Regions from separate parts of the Homo sapiens genome. Here regions 1, 2 and 3 are each linked to region 4. The links are contacts of gene promoters, found by promoter capture Hi-C in blood cells and fetal thymus (Javierre and others, 2016). All regions are on one chromosome and are shown on one strand. The core of a region is centred on a gene start or on the middle of the fragment in contact, and the rest is flanking DNA. Distances in the headings are between cores, read along the strand shown. Region 1 overlaps BUD13 (BUD13 spliceosome associated protein). Region 2 has its middle 40 kb from the start of BUD13. Region 3 overlaps SIK3 (SIK family kinase 3). Region 4 holds the start of TAGLN (transgelin).

Evidence for each region. The method cuts DNA at HindIII sites, captures the fragments that hold promoters and counts their contacts. A CHiCAGO score of 5 or more calls a contact.
Region 1: a fragment that was not itself captured here is called in contact with the fragment with the promoter of TAGLN in region 4 in 4 of 17 cell types (total CD8 T cells, neutrophils, fetal thymus and 1 more); the score reaches 6.2 in total CD8 T cells.
Region 2: a contact is called between a fragment that was not itself captured here and the fragment with the promoter of TAGLN in region 4, in 1 of 17 cell types (erythroblasts). The highest score is 5.5, in erythroblasts.
Region 3: a fragment that was not itself captured here is called in contact with the fragment with the promoter of TAGLN in region 4 in 2 of 17 cell types (naive CD4 T cells and total CD8 T cells); the score reaches 5.5 in naive CD4 T cells.

Annotation. Positions count from the first base shown.
Region 1 is chr11:116,749,081-116,752,392 of GRCh38, reverse strand. The region is part of intron 9 of BUD13 (BUD13 spliceosome associated protein); the gene reads left to right. Among named protein-coding and RNA genes, the nearest start is that of BUD13, 22 kb to the left of the region's middle. The HindIII fragment of the contact is 1,639 bases long and covers 1,052-2,690 here.
Region 2 is chr11:116,731,526-116,734,778 of GRCh38, reverse strand. No RefSeq gene overlaps it. Among named protein-coding and RNA genes, the nearest start is that of BUD13, 40 kb to the left of the region's middle. RefSeq lists a silencer at 1,796-1,845. The HindIII fragment of the contact is 5,485 bases long and covers 1-3,253 here.
Region 3 is chr11:116,856,671-116,860,347 of GRCh38, reverse strand. SIK3 (SIK family kinase 3) reads left to right here. Exons shown (of 25, transcript NM_001366686.3): 20 at 744-1,083; 21 at 1,649-2,538. Among named protein-coding and RNA genes, the nearest start is that of APOA1, 21 kb to the right of the region's middle. The HindIII fragment of the contact is 5,146 bases long and covers 1-3,677 here.
Region 4 is chr11:117,197,180-117,200,701 of GRCh38, reverse strand. It overlaps TAGLN (transgelin), which reads right to left and starts at 1,332. Exons shown (of 5, transcript NM_003186.5): 1 at 1,270-1,332. LOC100652768 (a long non-coding RNA gene) reads left to right here. Exons shown (of 8, transcript NR_045215.1): 2 at 790-851; 3 at 1,914-1,965; 4 at 2,266-2,383; 5 at 2,795-2,916; 6 at 3,298-3,472. SIDT2 (SID1 transmembrane family member 2) reads right to left here. Exons shown (of 26, transcript NM_001040455.2): 26 at 3,260-3,522. RefSeq lists a silencer at 2,415-2,709 and an enhancer at 2,112-2,775. The HindIII fragment of the contact is 9,715 bases long and covers 1-3,522 here.

The DNA.
Region 1 (3,312 bases), core at 622-3,121, 450 kb after region 4:
CTTTTTGTTATTCATCTTTCATCATCTTTTCTAGTTTTGTCTCTTTTCGGCCTGCTGCAAGGGAATATTTCCGGAACAGATATATAGTATCTGTTGGAAAAACCCATAAGATAATTACCCAGCCTCTCTTAATTGAAAGAGAAACGGGGCCGGGTGCGGTGGCTCATGCCTATAATCTCAGCACTTTGGGAGGCCGAGGCGGGCAGATCACGAGGTCAGGAGATTGAGACCATCCTGGCTAACATGGTGAAACCTCGTCTCTACTAAAAAAAATACAAAAAATTAGCTGGGCGTGGTGGCGGGCGCCTGTAGTCCCAGCTGCTCGGAAGGCTGAGGCAGGAGAATGGCGTGAACCCGGGAAGCGGAGCTTGCAGTGAGCCGAGATCGTGCCACTGCACTCCAGCCTGGGCAACAGAGCAAGACTCCGTCTCAAAAAAAAGAGAAACTGAGGCCCAATAAATAAGCAGTTTGCCTAGAGTCATGCAATTTCCCTGAGAAAGCTGGAATTAGAACTCTGCGTTCCTGATTCTCTGGTCCAAAGCTCTTTCCACTGTGAGTTCTCCTGCAATTTGTTTTCTGATTCTGCTTAGGATTTGGTGTTTGTTATTCATATGTCCTTTGTATTATCATATTAGTGTAACTCTCTTAAGACCTTATTTCCAAGGTAAAAAACAGTGGTTTCCTTGGTGCTTTGGAATACCATCCATGCTTCTAAGGTTGGAGAGGATGCCATTTATAATAAGCTTCCCTTCTTTTTTTTTTGAGACGGAATTTCGCTCTTGTTGCTCAGGCTGGAGTGCAAAATGGCACGATCTTGGCTCACTGGAACCTCCGCCTCCTAGGTTCAAGCAATTCTCTTGCCTCAGCCTCCCGAGTAGCTGGGATTACAGGCGTGAGCACCACGCCCAGCTAATTTTTGTATTTTTAGTAGAGACAGGGTTTCACCATGTTGGCCAGGCTGGTCTCGAACTTCTCATCTCAGGTGATTCACCTGCCTCGGCCTCCCAAAGTGCTGGGATTACAGGCGTGAGCCACCATGTCCGGCCAAGCTTCCCTTCTTAAAGCCCTCTGTTACTCACTCCACTCATCCCTTAAGGGAAAGTCTTAGCATACATGTTATAAGTGTAAGCAGCTAGGTAGTAGGTACTAGGGATTCCATGATTAAAGAGAGATAGCCCCTGAGCCCAGGAGCTCACTTTCAATCTAGAATAGAAGACAGACAGTTTCAACGCTGTTTGGTTAGTGTTACTATAGAAGATTTTCAAGATGTTTTGGGAGCACAAAGGAAGAGTAAGTTGAGCCTTAGGAGGATGTGAGTGATCAGGAAGTGCTTCCTAACGGATGAAATGTGGGAGCTGAGTTTTAAGGGATGTTGGTAACCAGCCAAGATAAGAAGGAAAGGAAGGATATTAAAGGAAGAGGGTCCTATATGTGCAGAGTCATAAGGCTATGAGACACCATGGTGTTACCAGGTGGTGGGGGTCCCTAAGTAATTTGCTGTTGTTGGATAGCATAAAGCGTGAGATGGATGAGAGAGGTTGGCAGACCGTGATCACAGAAGGCCCTGGAAGCCTATCTGAGGAGCTTGGTCTTCACCCTAGAGGTAAAGGGGAGACACGGAAGGATTAAAAACAGCTCTGCATTTTAGATAGACAAATCCATTATAGCAGTAATATGAAGGATTTGAAAGGTACAAGATTGGAAGTAGAACAGATACAAGGCTTTTGCAGTAGCTCAGGCTGAAAGTAATGAGTGTCTGAACTACGACTTGCAGGCAGTGGTAGTAAGGATGGTTAGTAAGAGAATAGGAAGTGGGGATGTGGTCAGGGGTGAGCTGGTGGGACCTGTTTGCTGATTTGGGGAAGAGGAAGGAGGAGTCATTGGATTTGGCAACAAGGAATGTCAGTGATGACCTGAAAGGGCTAGTTCCGTTGTGTAGTGAAACAATGGCCAGGTTCTAATGTATTAAGGAGTGAATGAAAAGTGAGGAAACAAATAGTGAATACAGGCTTTTTAAGAAGTTTAGATAAGAAGACCAAGAGAATGCATGGTAATTAAAGGGATTTGAGGTCCACTCACTACCTCCTTGAAATTCACCCCTGTATTGTTTTCCATGACACCCTACTCCTGGTTCTTTTCTCTGATCATTCTTGGCCACCTTTGCAAACTCCTCTTCCTCTGTGCACCTCTTAAGTCTTTCCCAGGGCTCCATCCATAATTTTTAGCTGTTCTCACTCTATGTGCTCCCTCTGGCTGATTCTTACCTAGTCATGTTTTCAACTATGACCTATATGTACATGATTTCCAAATCAGTATTTGCATCTTGGTCTGGTGTATTTAGCTGTTTGTTGGATTTCTCTATTGATTTAGACTTGAGAGATTTCAAATGCATTGTATTCAAAGCTGAACTCATCAGCTTCTACTGTAAGCCTGCTCCTACTCTTGTGCTCTCTAACTTGCCTCCTCCTTCTTTGTCCTTGTGTACCTAATCAATTAGTGCTGCTAATTAGTCTTACTAATTTTGCCTCCTGTGTCTTCTCTCTTCCGTCCCTCTTTATCATTGCCTTCATCATCTGTTGCCTGGACCATTGCAGTGATTTTCCTGCCCCAGATCCCCTCCAGAGTGATCTCTTTGAAATGCAGTTTAAGTTCTTGCTTTAAACCCATCGTTTCTGGATGAAATCTAAGCTTTTTACCATGGCCTACGCAGCTCATTATGCATTGGCCTCTGCGCCTTTCCAACTTTGACTCATGGCTGTTCCCTTTGTCATACTTCAGGTTCCAGCCATACCAGTTTGCCTTTGGTTTGCTGCACATACCAGGCCACTTCTTATTTCCGTGCCTTTGTTCTTGTTGCTCATTCTGTTCTGAAATGACCTCCAGACCCTTTCTGGCCCTTCCATCCCCAGTGCTGTAGTTAACACAGAGCCTTTACTGATCATTCTTGCCCAACCCTCATGTCACCTTTTTATCATACCTCCCCCAAGCTGATTAAGATACCCATTCTGTTTCCATGACACCCCATGCGTATTTCTACCAGAGTTTATGCTGTTCTTTTAATTTATTTGTTTAAATGTCTCTCTCTTCCACTAGTCTGGGAGTTCATCAGGACAGGTGCTGTGTCATACTCATTTTCATGTAGTGTCTACCATGGTACCTAGTATATAATGAAAATTCAATAAATGTTTGTGTAATGAATGGATAAAATATAAGATGTGGACATCAGCTGAGAGAGAACCAGGCTTTTAGAGTGGCAAACGTTTGAAATAGCTGTCAGAGTGGGGGAAGGGTGTGAACAAGGACTAAGAAAAG
Region 2 (3,253 bases), core at 598-3,097, 470 kb after region 4:
ACTGAGGCTAAAGACCACAGCTCTACCAAAGCCTCTGCTCTTTCTTCAAATGAATGAGTGAGTCGGGGGCGGTTGCTCTGAGTGAGAGTGGGCCAGAGTGGGTTCAGGGCATTCAGGAGCCACCACAGCTCATTCGTGGAGGTGTCTAATCAGCTATGCTAATTGATTGTCGTGTCTGCAATATCAGATGCATGCTTAATTAGCACATGAACTCTCCTGTCAGATATTCCTGGAGGGGCTCTGCCAGCCAACCTAGGCCCAGCCACAGGAGCCTGCTGCTTTCTTGGAAACAGGGTGGGGAAGCATGATGATCCCAGTATTGACAAGGATCCCCTGAGAACAGGAAGGTCCACTGCTTTGTCGTGTGGGAAGCAGATTCAGGATGAAGCCCTGTCTACAAGATGTGTCCAGTCTCCTCCGCCTCGAGGCCCTTGGTTCATCGACCTCTTCCCTACAGCCTTTGGACTTTGCACCACTCTTTGAGGCCTCTGTGCTTTTTTCCAAGCTCCTGCTTCTGCGCTGGTCTTCCTCTCCCTAGCAAATCCTTATTCACCCTTAAGGGTCCAGCTCAAATGTCACTTCCTTTGTGGAGTTCCCCCTGGCCCCCGTGCTACCCGCAGAGTGGCAGAATCAAATGCTTCCTCTTCAGACTTGCTCCTATTGTACTTGTACCTACCTGACTCTAATGTGAGTCTCTTCAAATTACAGTGTTTTTGACGTGTTTTTCTCCCCCGGCCAGACTTAGGGCTTATTCAAGGCAGAGACCACAGTCTTCAGCATCCGGCACAAAGCCCGGCCTGTACAAGACACTCAGTACATTTAATTTGTTGAATTAAACTGAATGCTAGGTTGAGGTTCCACTGCAGGTAAGAACTGGGCAAGTGTAAACTTCCAGAACTCAGCAGCTATTTATTAGTGATATGCAGATGTAGGTAGGGCATCTTTGAAATCTTCCCAAGGATTCTGTGATCCTTATTTTTCCTTTTCACAATAATCCTCTCCTACTTGGGAAAAAGGGGGATAAAATCGCACTTTGGCCCCAGCCTGGGGAGAATCTTGGCATTAGGCTGGGGGGCCATGGTGGGAGGAAGCATGGGACTGGGGCCTAAAGGCCATCAACCAGACTGCAAGCTGCCTGAGTGCAGGATGTGACTTCCCCTCCCTCCCACACATATGGCCATTGCTTCACCTGGAGTGACTTGGGACTGGGGAATCAGGGGTGGGCAGCAGTGCAGGAAAACCCATCCGCACCAGCCTGGGGCTCCCTCTTCTCACTACCTCATGAGGCCCTGTGGAGTGTGGACTGTTGCTGCTGTCCTGATCCCCCAAATGCCATAACTGCTGACTTCTGATGTAAATAGTGTACATTTGTTTTTTACTTTGCAGCTAATTTGCATTAACTTCTCTGAATGACAGACATATAGAAATTCCCTGATTTCTATGACCTCACTTCCACACCACAAAAAACCACAGTGGTCCCTATACCTCTGTACTCAGGGACTCCCAACCCAGGTGGGCAGATACCAGGGGGTTTCTGAGGAGCCCTGCATCAAGCAGGCACCAGCCCAGGAGGAAGCGATCCAGGAATCCCACTACCCCGGAGCCCACTGCTCTGGCGTCTCTTTCTTGTCTCTCGGGGTTGTGCGGGGTGAGGGCATGGGGGTTTGTGAAATGTCTTCGTGATTTTGTAATTCAGGCTAGGGAGTCATTCGGAGAAAAGCGAATGAAAAGTAGGGTAAAGGGGAAAGAGGGGCTTTGTGACTTAGGTGGGCTTTGCAGAAGGACAGGAAGCCACACCCCGAGCCTTACAAGGCAAGCTGGATGGGGCTGCCCGGCTGCAATGGGGATGGACCGATACAGACCGCTCAGTGTAGCCACCTGCTGGACACATGGAGTCATAGCGTTCTGCTTCCTTCATGCTTCCTACCCTCCAGCTGCGCCTGCTCTTCTTTCTTCCTTCTTTCTCCTCCTTCCGCCTAGTTCCGCCCCGGCCCGCATACCTGCTTTCCCTCTTCCCTCAGGTGTGACTACCCAGATGCATCTGTCTTGGCCCAGGGCTGGGGACTCTGAATTTCCTCCTTTGGTGATGACTGAAAGGGAGCAGCTATCCCTGGTTGAGGCCAGAGAGAAGGCTTTTCATCTCCATGTTCAGTCTCTCCACCTTCTCGCTTGGCTTGCTGGGATCCTGCGCTTGGCTGCGATTAGAGGCCACTGAATTTATTGTCCAAACTGGGATGCTTCTGAGAGTGAAGGGTGTGTGTGCTTGCTATTAGTAATTATGCAGAGACAACAGCTGTAGACCAGAATTGTCCCGGGCCAGCGGGGACTCATGGTAAGCATAGTTCCGAGGGTCCGCCGGCGTTTTCGGCCGTGCGTCAGGTGTGGAAGGCTAAGGCGGCCAGCAGAGGCTGCTGCGGCACTTGTTATGTGCCTCACTATCTAAAAAGCTCCTTTTGCCATGCTGGGACTGTGGTGGGTGAAGTTGGTTGTCGTACAGGGCTAAGGTCCCCTGAGTAGTGATTGTACCAGATTTGCTCACCTGGGCCTGGCGCACAATGGGATAAGAAAGCCGCCTGCTTCCTCTAGTCTGGGTGGGAGACACAGCCCAAAGTCCCAGGGCCTACCTTCTCAGAAACTCCCCATCATCCTGGATTGGACTGTGCCTTTCCTGAATTCTGACACTTCTTGTTCCTGCCCCTTCAGGCAAAGACTGGGCAAGCAGTTTCCTAGCACTGCCAGCTCTGAGGCTGGTGCCTTTCTGGGTGGATTATTGGCCTTCCTGGATACATTGGCAGGAGGACTCATGGGTCGGCCCCAGGATGCCCTGGCCAGAGGGGACCCAAGGAATGCCTGACAGTTTCTCTGCCTGACTTGCAGGGGGGAATTCAGACCAGCCTTGGAGTCCTGTGAAGGGGAAGGGCTCCTGGAATCTTCTAGCCCTCCTTCCTCTCACCCAGTTCTAACTCTGGCAGAAAGACCTCATTTCCTCTTCCCCATGTGGGAGACTTTCCCTCCCTTGACCCCTCTTGCAGTTGGGAGACCTTGATCCTTGTGGGAGGAAGGGGTTGCTGTACCAGGATGGGGTCCCTCCGCTCCCCTGGCCAGGGGAAGCATGACCTGCTGAGCTGGAGTCTGGCCCCGCAAGCTGTTGTGGCCTGACCTGTAGTTGCTTGCCCAGTACCAGCCCCTCTCTCCCATCTTCTCTCCCTGCTCACCTGAAGGGAGAGGCCAGTATCAGGCTTTCCAGGCTACG
Region 3 (3,677 bases), core at 258-2,757, 340 kb after region 4:
GCTCTTCCTACTTAAAGTGGGGTCCCCCAGCCACCAATATTGGGAGAAAAAGTAAGATCTCAGGTCGTATTCCAGACCTGTTAGAGTCTGTTTTTTTTTTTTTTGAGATGGAGTCTCCCCCTGTCACCCAGGCTGGAGTGCAGTGGTATGATCTCGGCTCACTGCAACCTCCACCTCCGGGTTCAAATGATTCTCCTGCCTCAGCCTCCCAAGTAGCTGGGATTACAGGCGCCCGCCACCACACCCAGCTAATTTTTGTATTTTTAGTAGAGACAGGGTTTCGCCATGGTGGCCAGGCTGGTCTCGAACTCCTGACCTCATGATCCGCCCACCTCGGCCTCCCAAGTGCTGGGATTACAGGTGTGAGCCACCACGCCCGGCCTAGAGTCTGCATTTTTAACCAGATGCCAGGCCATTTGTGTGCATGTGAAAGTTCAAGAAGCACTGCCTAGATCCGAGTTACCCCATGTAATCCATGGACCAGCTTTTAAGGGAACTTGTTGGAAACACAAATTCTTAGGGGCCCATCCTGACCTACTGAATCAGAGTTTGAAACAGAATTATATAGATAGGACCCAGGAATCTTCTGTTTAACAAGTTCTCCAGACTTGTCCTATGCTCAGTGCAGTTTGAGAAGCACTGTTCTAGCTGGTATGTCGTCTGAGTATTCTCATTAGCTCTCATTACTTCTGGCTGGCTGGTGGCCTGGGCACTTGGTCACTCTGAGGTTCCTTTCTCTCCAGGGGCTGCATCTTCTTCCCAGTTTCAAGGCTTACCTTCCCGCAGTGCAATCTTTCAGCAGCAACCTGAGAACTGTTCCTCTCCTCCCAACGTGGCACTAACCTGCTTGGGTATGCAGCAGCCTGCTCAGTCACAGCAGGTCACCATCCAAGTCCAAGAGCCTGTTGACATGCTCAGCAACATGCCAGGCACAGCTGCAGGCTCCAGTGGGCGCGGCATCTCCATCAGCCCCAGTGCTGGTCAGATGCAGATGCAGCACCGTACCAACCTGATGGCCACCCTCAGCTATGGGCACCGTCCCTTGTCCAAGCAGCTGAGTGCTGACAGTGCAGAGGCTCACAGGTAAGACCGCCTAACGTCACCCAGCCATCTATGCATGGGATCCAGGTGGGAGGAAGCCCCTTAGCAGAGTGAGAGAAAAGGAGGGAAGGAGAATGGGTCTGACTAGGCTGTGCTCTTGTTTCACGCTTTCTAAAATCAGGATGCTGGGTTTGGAATGAACTTGTCAGCTTTTTATTGACCCAGGGTTAAAATTCTAATGAGACTGAGGTGGAAAATGGGAAAGCTACCTTATTATTTGCTACCTTATTATTTGCTTGCAAAGAAGAAAATGGCCTGTTAGAGGAATGTATAAAAATTCCAGTTCCCCTTTTCTTGAAGGGAGCATCTTGAAGTTGCTTCCTTCAAAATGAGCTAGATCTATTACCCACGCAGTGCCCTCAGTCCCTTGGAGGTTACTGGACAAGCCAGTAATGGAATAAATAGGGACAATGCATACATCTGCCACTTCTCTGTCACACCACAGTTCTCTGTACCAGTGGGTTCTCCCTACTGAGGAGGAGGAGCTGTTCCCAGGAAGTCTAGTACTTGTTACATGGATGTCTGGTACTCCCTTTTGTGTCTGCAGCTTGAACGTGAATCGGTTCTCCCCTGCTAACTACGACCAGGCGCATTTACACCCCCATCTGTTTTCGGACCAGTCCCGGGGTTCCCCCAGCAGCTACAGCCCTTCAACAGGAGTGGGGTTCTCTCCAACCCAAGCCCTGAAAGTCCCTCCACTTGACCAATTCCCCACCTTCCCTCCCAGTGCACATCAGCAGCCGCCACACTATACCACGTCGGCACTACAGCAGGCCCTGCTGTCTCCCACGCCGCCAGACTATACAAGACACCAGCAGGTACCCCACATCCTTCAAGGACTGCTTTCTCCCCGGCATTCGCTCACCGGCCACTCGGACATCCGGCTGCCCCCAACAGAGTTTGCACAGCTCATTAAAAGGCAGCAGCAACAACGGCAGCAGCAGCAGCAACAGCAGCAACAGCAAGAATACCAGGAACTGTTCAGGCACATGAACCAAGGGGATGCGGGGAGTCTGGCTCCCAGCCTTGGGGGACAGAGCATGACAGAGCGCCAGGCTTTATCTTATCAAAATGCTGACTCTTATCACCATCACACCAGCCCCCAGCATCTGCTACAAATCAGGGCACAAGAATGTGTCTCACAGGCTTCCTCACCCACCCCGCCCCACGGGTATGCTCACCAGCCGGCACTGATGCATTCAGAGAGCATGGAGGAGGACTGCTCGTGTGAGGGGGCCAAGGATGGCTTCCAAGACAGTAAGAGTTCAAGTACATTGACCAAAGGTTGCCATGACAGCCCTCTGCTCTTGAGTACCGGTGGACCTGGGGACCCTGAATCTTTGCTAGGAACTGTGAGTCATGCCCAAGAATTGGGGATACATCCCTATGGTCATCAGCCAACTGCTGCATTCAGTAAAAATAAGGTGCCCAGCAGAGGTAAGTGTCTCCTCACAGTGGAAGTCCTGGGCCAGTCTGCCCTAATCAACTGACTCAGTAATGTTATCTTTTTTCAGCTAGTATTCTGTGTTCCTAAGAAAAAAAGAATTTCTGAGCTTCACGACCTTCTTGGGGAGAAGCATGTAGGAAGTGGGTATTGGTGGGCAAGGGGTCCATTTTCAAAATCAAAGGACCATGATACAAAATTAACACTTAGTCAATAAGATAGATGATCCATTTCCCTTATTCATACCACAGTTTCTTGGAATCCAGAAATTCCTGACTGCCATCCAAACAGCTAACTTTAAACTTGTGCAATAGAAAAAAAGTCAGCCCAACATAATTTAGTGTAAATAGTGTGGGAACAAGAGTCAGAGCACCTTAATTCTGCTCTTGCAGCTATCATAAATACGATAACTTTGTCATTTAATCCCTCTGATTCTGATTTTCCTCATCTGTGAAGAAGGTGTTGGAGGAACAATGGAGTATCTTACGGTGTATCTGTGGAGATGAAAACATGTATATATGTGTTTGTTTCTACATAATGTTTGCATGAGAGAGAGAGGCACATTCAGATCATCTGAAATGTTTGAGTTCAGTGCATAAATGTGAGGTATTATTACTCTGGTCGTTTTATTAGTGAGCTAAATGCAGAATATTACAGCATCATAAGGGCCCCCATTATCATTTCATTTTGTACCACTTTATAATTAATGAGTATATTCATTATCATTCTGAAGGAGATCAGGATTGCAATTAGTAAGTTATACTTAGAAAATATAGTTCCATTAGCATCACGGCATTCATCCTAGACAAAATCAGGAATCTTGCAATTTACCACTCCTCACCATTGCCATCCAAGGGAATAAAAAGCAATTTATCTGTAAACTGTACAACCCTGAGACTGAGCAGTTTCTTCCATCCTTCCCTCCCCGGAACTACCTGCATCTCCTGCCCTGTCATTTAAAGTCAGTGCTGAAAACTCAGCCCCAGGGGGAATTCGGTCCTGCAGCACAGAGCAGTAGAGAAGGCCTTGCTGTAAAGCGGTGTCTGTGAAAACGCCTTGGTGGTGCCAGGTTGTACTCATTATGCGCTCTTAGGGGGGAATTGTTGCCTGAAATGCCAATTCAATCCTGACC
Region 4 (3,522 bases), core at 83-2,582:
GATTTCGGTCAGAGGGGGATGAAGCACACACCATCCCCACTCCCACCCAGCACCACCATCCTTCCCCTTCCTCCTCCTGGGTCAGGGTCGAAAAGTGGAGAATCCCCAGAAATCCTTTAGAGTCCTCTGATGAAGCCTCCCGAGTCCTGCCTTCGAGCCAGTGGGGAGGGGGAGAGGAGGATGATTACAGGGCGGCCCCCCCAGGGGCATCTCAAGACACTCCCAGGACAGCATGGACAGGCATGGACCCTCCTGCCCTGTGGCTCCTGCCAGGACCCCTCCCCTGAGCTGCCCAGTGGGTGAAAGTGGGCAGTGGAGAAAGAAAGTCCAGGGTCAAACGGGAAGGTGGCACCCCCTACCAGCAGAAGCCCAGAAACACGAGCAGAGCCAGGGGCCCCTGCAGGGCTGCTGTGCCCCTTCTCTCTTCCCAAATAGGAGTGAGCACACCTGGACCTCTGAGAGGGCAGGAGGGTGGCTCCTCTCCACTCCACGGACAAACAGGAGTGGCCTGGCTACATAAATGTGTGCCATCCTCACTGCTACCTTTGGAATAGCAACTTCGAAAGGGAACCACCCTTTGGGAAAGACCAAGGGTCCCAGGCCTGCCCCGCCTATCACTCCAAAGCTCCTCCTTGGCAGTACCCGCCCCCCACCCCTCTGCTACAGTGGGGGTGACCTCCCACTGTCAGACAGTGGAAGGGGCTGCTTGTCAGAAGGACAGGCCTTCCGTCTCCACTCTTTGCCCCTGACTGGAATACAAGAGTTCTGTGGCCCTTCACATTGTCACAGGGCTATCGCTGCTGCTCAGGCCCTGGGGACCCGCCAGAGTGGGACACCGTGCTCCAACACAGGTGCGTTCACACACTCCTCACCTCCTTGGAAGTTCTCCTGGAGGGGCAACAGACAGTAGAGCCTTGGCCTAACCGGCCGGCGCCTGCACCCTTACACACACCTTGTGGATGTGGCTGGCTGAGATGGGGAGCCTCCCTCTCACCCCGGTGGTTTCCATCAATTCCTCTGCACTAGCCAAGTCATCCGGGGCATTTCAATGAGCCCGGGGCTGCCCAGTCTGAGAGAGATCCAGGACGCTAGTGATCCAGCCCACCCTGCCTGGAGCTTGGGCCCCCATGCTGACTGAGAGGGTGGGTTTCCCTAGCCAGGGAGCTGGAGCTGGCGCCTGGGACCTCAGGAGAGCCTGCCTGAAATGCACCCACTGCTCCTGTCCAGCTCCAGCCCAACTTCCCTCCAAGCCCCAGCCAATGCACTCACAAGGCTTCCTCAGGGCTCGCAGGAAGGAGTGAAGACTTGTGTCTGGGTTCGGACAGACAGGATGGGGCGCTGGCTGGGTGAGGGGTTTAAAGGGCTGCCGCCGTGGTGATGTCAGCCTCCCCCACTGGCTCGCTCCTCGGCCCCCTCCCTGCTAGAGGAAGCCGGCTCCGCTCCCCACCCCCGGCTCCCCCAGTGACTCCACACAGGCTCCATATTTGGGGAAAGACACCAAGTTGGAGCAGTCTACCGGGGCTGCCGAGACATTCTCTGCATGCTTTGGAGATGGAGCGGGCCGGGGCGGGGCACGCTGCCGGCGGGGAGCCGGCCCGGGAAAAGCCTTTTATGGACAGGACCCTGCCCGGACTTACGGCTGCTCCTACTTCACTGTTCTCTGGCCCCGAGTTTGAGAAGAGGGGGAGTTCAATAGAGTCTGGCTGGAGAGAGGGGCAAGGGGCTGGGGAGCCGGGAATCCCAGGGGTTTGTGGGGACAAACCAGCCACCCTCTCCTCCTGGGGCTTTTAGCTCTGATGGGACATGGGATCCAACCTTTCCTGAGGACCTACTCCACACCAGGCCCTTTGCAGTGCTCTCATTGAATACTCACAGCTACAGTGTGAGGGTGTAATTACATCCCCATTTTATAGATGAGGAAACTGAGGCCCCGAGTGCGTCTTCCTCAAGGCCACATGGTGAATGGTAAGTGGCAGATCCTGCACACCTCTGCCAACCCGCATGGGTGCAGGAGAGGTGGTCAGACCCACCCTTTCAATTGGACCACCCTGCTCAGGTTGAGAAGAGCTTTCAGTGCAGGTAGGTCTTGAGTTATATGCTTTAGTTGGGGCTGGGATTTGAGGGTTCGGCAGAAGCTGAGTCCAACTCCGGTCCCCATCCAGTGGGCAGTGTCAATAAGAGGGTCTATAAGGCCTGGCAGGGCCTGAGACACTAACGCAGGAGAAGGAGGCTCAGGAGGCTGGTATCATCCCTTCCTCCCTTTAGGAACAGTCCCTACCAGCCTGGAAAACAGACCAGCCTCTGTCACTCCAGAGATAACCCACTCTCATCTTGCTCGTACCTGGCTTCAGGGATCTTGGGGAGAGATAAGAGGTTAAAAAAGGTGAGACTAACAGTGGGATCCCTGGACTGACTGCTGTGGCACTCCCCTGCAAGGGCATCTGGTAGGGAAGACCTAACACTCTCCACTACACACACACTGCCACACCCGGCACCACCCCTAGCCAAACAAGGCCCTAGGAGGGGGCTGCCAGGCCTGGCAGAGGAGGGGCCCGCCTCCGCAGTTCTGCCCACTGCAACTGGACATGCTCCAGAGCCCAGGGGAGGCACAGCCATAGCACCTCCCAGTGGCGCCTGCAGGAAAAGCAGGAAGAGGAGTGGGCCCTGGCGAGGGGAAAGCCCACTCCTCCATCCCTGACCCTGCAGACCTCTGGTTGTGTTCTGAATTCAACAGATTCCTTGGCCCCCAAATCATGTCCTCCTTAGCCGACTGAAGTCTAAATGAATCTTTCAGGGACATATCAAAACTCCCTCCTCTTGGAGCCTGCCCAGCTTTCATCACCCTCCTGCCTCGGCCTGCACGCTGAGCGGATTATAAACGCCGCATCAGGGAGCACTGCTTGGGCCTGTGGCTTGGTGAGCTGGGGGCCGCTCAGGTCAGAGGTGAAGTGAGCCTCAGTCTGGTGGGCGGGGCCAGGTGGGCAGAGACTGCTGTTCCTGGGGAGGTAAGGAGGGATGTCTGCAGTGGGATGGCGTGGGAAAGGCTTTTCCAGGAACTGGCCTCTGTCCAGCACAGTGCCCCGGTAAATGTTTACTGAATTAATGCTGTTGCTGGAGGGACAGGAAAAACGGGAGAATCAAGGAATTGCAGTTCCCAGTAGGGCCATGGCTTGAAGAATGGGGAAATGGAAGACCTCCGCCTCTCCCCTCATCCTCAACAGCTCCACCCAGAGGGAGTGCAAACAAGGGCCCCAAGAACTGAGTCTGGTTGTTTATTGAATGCAAATTCATTCATAGAAAACGGAAATGCAACCATAGCATGGAGACGCTCTGAGAAAAGATCCAGACCCACCTCATCTCCCAGCCCTTCAAGCAGAGCTATAAAAACAAGTTTGGGAGAAAAACACATTCCCATCCCCAAAGCAGAGGCCCCGCCTGAGCTCCCCCATCCTCAGCATCTGGGGTGGACCAGGTGGGACGAAGGGGATCCAAGGACCAGGGTGGCCAGGGTGCCCAGAGCTG